3 separate regions of the Homo sapiens genome follow, and all the other regions are linked to region 1. Evidence: promoter capture Hi-C in human tissues and cell types (Jung and others, 2019). All regions are on one chromosome and are shown on one strand. Each heading gives the region's core, a stretch centred on a gene start or on the middle of the fragment in contact. The rest is flanking DNA. Distances are from core to core; before and after follow the strand shown. Region 1 holds the start of ACTN2 (actinin alpha 2). Region 2 has its middle 20 kb from the start of HEATR1. Region 3 overlaps ACTN2 (actinin alpha 2).

What was found. The method cuts DNA at HindIII sites, captures the fragments that hold promoters and counts their contacts. A contact is called where the count stands out against the background at its distance.
Region 2: a contact is called between a fragment that was not itself captured here and the fragment with the promoter of ACTN2 in region 1, in 1 of the 25 tissues and cell types used here (adrenal gland).
Region 3: a contact is called between a fragment that was not itself captured here and the fragment with the promoter of ACTN2 in region 1, in 2 of the 25 tissues and cell types used here (bladder and neural progenitor cells).

The regions. Positions count from the first base shown.
Region 1 is chr1:236,685,246-236,687,752 of GRCh38, reverse strand. ACTN2 (actinin alpha 2) reads right to left here and starts at 1,254. Exons shown (of 21, transcript NM_001103.4): 1 at 954-1,254. The coding sequence starts at 1,079. RefSeq lists a silencer at 1,309-1,398. The HindIII fragment of the contact is 16,282 bases long and covers 1-2,507 here.
Region 2 is chr1:236,623,647-236,626,153 of GRCh38, reverse strand. No RefSeq gene overlaps it. Among named protein-coding and RNA genes, the nearest start is that of HEATR1, 20 kb to the right of the region's middle. The HindIII fragment of the contact is 4,072 bases long and covers 1-2,507 here.
Region 3 is chr1:236,748,874-236,751,380 of GRCh38, reverse strand. It overlaps ACTN2 (actinin alpha 2), which reads right to left. Exons shown (of 21, transcript NM_001103.4): 14 at 2,117-2,257. Among named protein-coding and RNA genes, the nearest start is that of MTR, 45 kb to the left of the region's middle. The HindIII fragment of the contact is 7,634 bases long and covers 1-2,507 here.

The sequences.
Region 1 (2,507 bases), core at 5-2,504:
GCTACAGTACCCATTATACAGAGATTCCCATACACACTATGGTCACCACAGGCTATCCACCTAAAGCAGGTCCTTAGAAGGGAAATCTATCTTGCCCCACGCCCAGAAAAATAGGCGGAAAAAAGTTCAGAGCGTTTGGCTTTTGCCATAACCCCGTTATCTTAAGGTTGGGTTGGCAGGTCTCTGTTGTCATGTCTGACCCAACCAGGCTCCCTGCCTAGTCAAGTAAGAGGCGGGATTAAGCCTCCTGGTGAGCATTCCCTATTTATTCCAGCCAAGAGGATCAAGAGGAAACCTTGAAAAAGTGGAATGTTCCACTGGGCCCCCAGAGAACGCCAATCAAAATGGGGAGGGAGCTTTTAGAAGCTGGCTGACTCCTTCGTCCCTGTGTGCTTACCTCAATGAATTATAAATAGAGTGTGAAATAATTGTCACTATCGGTAAATGTCTAGTGTTCATACAACATCCCTCTCCAAGGAACCCAAAAGATTGAATAAATGACTTTCCATGACTCTAGGGGCAGCCCGGTGGAAATTGCAATGAAGCTGATGTTCTTTTGCTTCTTTCAATGGGGAAGAGAGAGGCTGGGGTAAATGGACACAAGCGGGCCAGGAGAGTATAACTCGGGGGCCAAGGTCACAGACTCAAGGGGTCAGGAGCAGACCAGAGACCCCTTCAGATCTGGTCTAACGCGGGTTGGTGTGAGGAACAGAACCACATCTGTACCTCCGATGCTGCTAGCGCGCGCGCACACACACGACGCCCAGTGTCCTGCCTGTCCCCGGACGTGTCCTCTTTCCTAAGGGGCCCCCGGGGCTGCGAGGGCACAGGACAGCACAGCACCTCCACAAAGCGCCCTCTCGCCAGTCGCCAGGCCACGCGGCCACGCGCACGGGAGCCCCGCGGGGGACCCGGCCCCACCACGCGCGGGCGGCCCGCGGGCCCCTGCTGACCTTCCTCTGCTGCTTCTCCCAGGCTGGGTCCAGGAGCAGGTCGCGGTCCCACTCCTCCTCCTGGATCATGTACTCATCCTCGTCGTACACGTAGTTGTACTGCACGCCGGGCTCTATCTGGTTCATGGCGCTCGGTTGGCCGGGGCTGCGGCGGGGCGCGAGGGGCTCGGACGCACGGGCTGACTGGCAAACGGACCCACGGAGGCGGCGGGCGGCGGGCGGCGGGCGCGGGGTGACCTTCGCGCGGCTCCTCTCGGGGCGACACGCCTGGGCGCTGGGTCTCGGGCGAAGCACCAGCTCCGGCTGCGAGCAGCTGCCGCGCGGCTTAATAGCCGCGCCGCCCGTCACGTGGCCGCCCGGCCACGCCCCCGCCGCCACCGCCCCCGGCCCCGCCCGTCGGGCCCCAGCCGCCCCGCCCCGAGCACGTGCGGGCGGACAAGGGCGCCGGGCCCCTCCACTGTCTCCCCTGCAGCCGCCGCCCAGAGGCCGCCTGCACGCCTTCCGCCGAGGCCTCCGGGAACGTGAGGGGAGCGGCCGGCCCCGAGCAGAGCCACGCCTGCCACCCACGCTCTGAGAGCGGCTGGTTAGCGGCGCGGGGTCCGTCGGTGTCCCGGGTGGGTGATCGCGAGCCAGGGGAGGGACACCTAAGAGGCTGGGTCCCTGACCACCCCAACACAGCCAAGTTTTCCAAATATCATTTGGATATTCGCGTTTTCCATATATTCCCACATATTCATTGGAGACCCCTCTTCTCTCTCTCTCATCTCTCTCTCGTGCCTCTCTTTCCGCTCATCGGTCCCTCTCTCTTGTGTCTGTCTCTCGTCTGTCTCTCTCTCATCTCTGTCCCTCTTTCTCCAGTGTCTCTCTCTCATAGATCTCTCTCATATCTCTCTCTCATCTCTGTCTCTCCTGTGTCTCTCTCACATGTCTCTCTCTCCTCTCATCTCTCTCTCTCTCTCGTGTCTCACTGTCTCTCATCTGTCTCTCGTGTCTCTCTCCTCTCCTCTTCTCTCCTCTGTCTCTCTCTCCCGTGTCTCTCTCTCTCTCGTCTCTCTCTCTCTGTCGTGTCTCTCTTTCTCTCTCTCATCTGTCTCTCTCTCCTGTGTCTCTCATACCTCTCTCATCTCTGTCTCTCTCTTCTCTCTCTCTGTTTCTCTTCCTCCCTCTCACACACACACACACATACATACATACAGGCCCCTAAGGAGTAAAGTTTAAAAGCTACAGAACCCCCCTCTTCTTTCTCTCCTCCTCACCCTCACCTGGGGAAATCAAGGCACAGGATTTGGATCCATCCTATTAAAATGTTAGGAACCAAACCAAAGGCAGGAAGTGTCAGCTCTCACCTACCGGGCATAAATTTAAGAGAGCTGACAATGAAGGGCAAGCGGCCAGCTTCGTGTTATATTTCCATGTCGCCCTGTGGGTTGCACTTAACGCCTTTTCATCCCCCTAGTGCTGGCTAGCTGTTCCCTATCAGTTATGCTGCCGCAGGAAGCAAAATGAGGACCCTTGGGACAAGTAGGCTGAAATTTTTAAATCAAATATGTATTA
Region 2 (2,507 bases), core at 5-2,504, 62 kb after region 1:
TCTGAGATCACAATAAAAGATCTTTACTGGTGCAAGGGTCACTTCTCACCGCTGTTTGACTGCTTTGGGTCATTCTTTAGTACCTTAAGTTTTTTATATTTTGTGAAGATTTTACTATTTTTTATCTGCAAGAGAGTAAGTTCAATCAAGCTATTGCACCATTACTAAAAGTGAGGCTTCTTTGACTATTTTTTTTAAGAGTTGGGGTTTGCTCACTCACCCAGGCTGGAGTACAGTAGTGTGATTATAGCTTACTGCAGCTTCGAACTCTTGAGCTCCAGGGATCCTCCTGCCTTAGCCTCCTGAGTAGCTAGAACCACAGGCACACTCCACCACGTCTGGCTAATTTTTAAAAATTTTTGCAGAGACTGGGTCTTTCTATGTTGTCCAGGCTGGTCTTGAACTCCTGGCCTCTAGTGATCCTCCCACCTCAGCCCCCAAGTAGCTGATTACAGGCAAAAGCCACCATGCCTAGCTCACTTTTACTATTTTTTACAATTCAAGATGTTGTCTATCTTTTTCAGCTACTCTATCCTGATTAATAAATGTTCTGTTAGTTTTGACTTATATTCTTCTTTTTGACTGGTCGTTCTCCTTAAATAAGATGTATTTTTCTTTGTTGGCTCCCTGAAGGCTCTGGTCTTATATTGAATTACCCAAGTTGGCAGTACTTTTCATGTAATGAAAGCTAAAGCTGTCTCTACTCCTGTGGTTGGCAGTGTAGAAGCAGGCAAGTTAACAATTCCAGTAAGGATCATGGACAAAGTCTTCTGTTCTGTTTCTTCTTACTTTCCTTGTCACAGGATCAGTAAACACTCGAGGCATTGTTAAACTTTATATTAGTTTTTTCTTTTGCTGTGTAACAATATTATCACAAACTTGCTGGCTTAAAACAACATAAACTTATTATTTCACAGTTTCTGAGGTTCAGGATTCCAGACACAACTAGACTGAGTCCTCTGTCTTAGGGCCTCACAAAATTGTGATCAAGATGTCATCTGGGCTGCAGGCTTTTCTGAGACTCGACTGGGGAAGGATCTGCTTCCGAGCTCATGTGGTTGTTAGTAGCATTTGTTTCTTTGTGGACCATTGGACTAAAGGCCTCTGTTTCTTGCTGGGTATTAGCTGAAGGAGTTCCTTAGGTCCTTGCCATATTAATCTTTCCAGAATCATTTGTTTTCTCAAAGCCAGCAAAGTAGAGTCTCCTGGAAAGATTGATGTTACAATCATATGTAATGTAATCACTTACATGTAATCACACATATTCTGTCATGCAGGCTGTATTCTGTGGATTGAATCAAGTCGCAGGTCCCACCTACACTCAAGGGAAGGGATTAAATCCAGGAGGCAGGGATTACGGAGGTCATTTTTAGAATCAATATGCCACAGTCTGCCCTGATTCCCAGTGATTCATGCCTCTCCCACATGAAAATATATTCACCCCTCTTAAGGTTCCTAAGAGTCTCATCCCACTGCAATGTGTGCTTGAATTCAGAATTTCAAAATCTAAATAAGATCCAGGTGCAGGTGAGGCTCTTTAGATCTGGTTCCTCTCCATCTGTGAGTCTATAAAACTAGAAGTTGGGGGAAAAAGAAATCAAGATCCACAAAAGTATGCCAGTTCATAAATACAGAATTAGCTAAATTCACTATCAAGCAAAAGCGCATGCATCCACAAAAAACATCCAAAATGCATGCATGCAGGTAGTCATGAGTGGCTATAAATTTCTAGGGAATTTTCAGCTCTACCTATCTAGAATTAAATCTACAATTGTTATACCTCATCTCTACCTTTGTAAATACTCATCAGTTATTCAACAAGCATCAGTAGTTACATTAAGCTTACTCTAATGTCCTATTTCCTTTTTCGGAGACAGGGTCTCACTCTGCCACCCAGGCTGGAGTGCAGTGGCATGATCATGGCTCACTGCAGCCTCAACCTCCTGGGTTCAAGCAATCCTCCCACCTCAGCCTCCCTAGTAAGCTGGGACTACAGGCACACATCACCAAGCCCAGCTAATTTTTGTTTTTTAGTTTTTATTTTGGTAGAGATGGGGTTTTGCTATGTTGCCCAGGCTGGTCTCAACTCCTGGGTTCAAGTGATCTGCCCACTTCAGCCTTTCAAAATGCCGGGTTTACAGGTATGAGTCACCATTGCCTGGCTTGATGTCCTGTTTTCATAATTCTCTATCAGTACTGCTTAGGGTTATCTTGAGCACTGTGTCTACTTAACAGTACATATGGTTAGTCATATCCATCAACATTCCTCAGAAGATTAGATTAAGTTCTGTTTCCCATGAGAGGCAAGTTATCTGGTCCCCACTCCCCACACCCAACATAGAATGGTGGTATAGATCTATTATAACAGCTATAAACATTCCCATTCAAAAGGAGCCAAAATAAAAGATATAAATAAGTGACTTGTGAGTAGAAATTCTGAAATCCAATCAAGCAAATATTGGGAGTTTCTTTTTTAGATTTCAAGGCTTGAGAATAATTCTTTGTAG
Region 3 (2,507 bases), core at 6-2,505, 64 kb before region 1:
CCTTGATGATTGCAAGAGTCTCTGGAGAAAAACACATTCTGAATGCTTTAGAAAAAACTCTTTAGGTACACAGAAGTCAAGTTCCTGGAAAATGGAAAAAGGATGTCATGATGACTATTAATAATATTGGTGGCTATTCATGTAGAGTCTTTTAAAAAATAATTTTTTTTAATCAGTTTTCCTTTCACTGATTTTGATCACCAGCTATTGTTTAGGTCTTTCTTATTTTCTGCTGACGAGCAGAACTTAACTTAGCGGCACTTCCTTTTTTTTTTTTTTTTTTTTTTTTTTGAGACAGGGTCTCGCTAGGTCACTCAGGCTGGAGTGCAGTGGTGCAATCATGGCTCACTGCAGCCTTGAACACTTGGGCTCAAGTAATCCTCCTGCCTCAGTCTCCTGAGTAGCTGGGACTATAGGGCATACATCATGATGCCTGGCTAATTTTTTTATCTTTTGCAGAGACAGGGTCTCATTATGTTGCCCAGGTTGGTCTCAAACTCCTGGCCTCAAGTGATCCTCCCCGCCTGGCCTCCCAAAGTGTTGGGATTACAGGTATGAGCCACCATGCTCAGCCCTTAGATGCCCTTTCTAATGGCCAGTGTTACCTTTGCAGTCCTACAAAAGCATCTAACATTTGCTACCATTATATCTAAAGAAAACCAGGAAGTACATCCCTATTCCTCAAAAAGAAAAGGTCACAGAAACCAACTCTTCCCAGAAGGCTCTCTAAAGAGCCATTTATCAAACCTATTCTTTGACCTGAACATGAGCAGCCCCACAAATTCAGCGGCTCAAAGACCTCACTGCCTCGTGGAGCACCTTTGAGTGTGAAGCTACTGTTCTCTTTAGGTGCAGCAACAGGTCAGCTGCCAACAGAGCTTTGACAAAGAGTGTGACTTCCAAGGCGTGCTTAGAGGTCTCACTTATTCCAAAAATAAACGATTTTAGACTGTTGGCCTGTGCTTAAGAGTGCACGCAGGAAACACCATCGGAGCCTCTTTCAAAAGGCAACTCCAATGTTCATGGAAGCACTTTCTTTCCCCTGGCGTGCAGGTGCAAACCCTTCTAGACGGCTCCTGGTAGGGAGGTGTGGTTTCAAATCCCAACCTTCAGGATTTCCTTTCTACTTGGATTCTTTTTGATGACATATCTATTTTACAGAAAAAAAAGAGTAAAAAGTATTTTCTCTTTTTATTCTATTATACATCAAATTCACTGTACAAATTCTCTAAATAAATTATGTCCTGGCTAACCGAGATTAACTTTCCTCCCTAACGTCACCACTTAGAAGCTTTGTTTATAGTTCTGAAGTTCCAGAAAAAACTATAAGCAGAACATTTTAGATTGGCAGTAGGCAAAAGGTAGGTGCTGATTTGTGGCTTCTTATGGTTTACAATCTGGCAAAAAACTCTGTAGATCTAAATAAACAGTAATATGCACACGTTTGCAAAGTAGTTAACTCAGCAGCTAGTACACTTACAACTTTTTCATGAATAACTCCAAGAGCACATATGTTTATTTTGCTCAATGATGCAGCAGTTGTTGTAGTTGTAGTTGTCGTTGTTGTTGTTGTTGTTGTTGAGACAGGGTCTCACTCTGTTACCCAGGATGGAGTCCAATGGCGTGATCTTGGCTCACTGCAACCTCTGCCTCCCAGGCTCAAGCGATCCTCCCACCTCAGCCTTCCCAGTAGCTGGGACTCCAGGCGTGCACCACCACACCCAGCTAATTTTTTTTTGTATTTTTTGTAGAGACGGGGTTTTGCCACATTGGCCAGGCTGGTCTCGAACACCTGAGCTCAAGCAATCCACCCGCCTCAGCCTCCCCAAGTGCTGGAATTATAAGCATGAACCACTGCGCCCAGCCTCAGCATTCTTTTTTAAAGAACAGAGCTTCTGAGACACATTCACCATTACTTGATTGATTTTAACGGGTTTGCAACACAGAGTACTAAACACATTTTTAAGCTAAGGTTCAAGGGTAATTTGGGCTTTCTAGCCACATTTGTTAATTTTTTTTTAAAGCAAGAAAACAAGAAACCAAATAACAGGACTCTTAAGTTTAAATGACAACTCACTTCTAATGCATAGGGCATACAGAGTTGCGGTTCCATTACCTGGATCTCCTCAATGCTGTGGACAATGAACATATCTTGCAGATCCTCCATAGCGCCCTCCATCCAATTGTTGAAAGGAGCAGCCCTCTTGGCAAACTCCAGGTGAAGCTGATCAATGGTTTCTAGCAATTTCTCCATTCTCTAAAGAATAAAGAGAAGCAAGCATTATCATAGACTAATTAAAAAATTCACTGAAAGTGTAAGTAGGCGTTCCATAAGAACAGACTATTCTCTGATATTCTGTTAATCGTATTAGCATGTGTCTACAAAAGATTACCCGATGCTCAAACAATTAGGCTGAGCCCTGCAGGTCTCTGAGGTGCCTTCTGAATCAAAGAAGGATTTCATAACATCCAGAGCAGCCTCATTTTTAAAGTGTCTAAAGTACTTC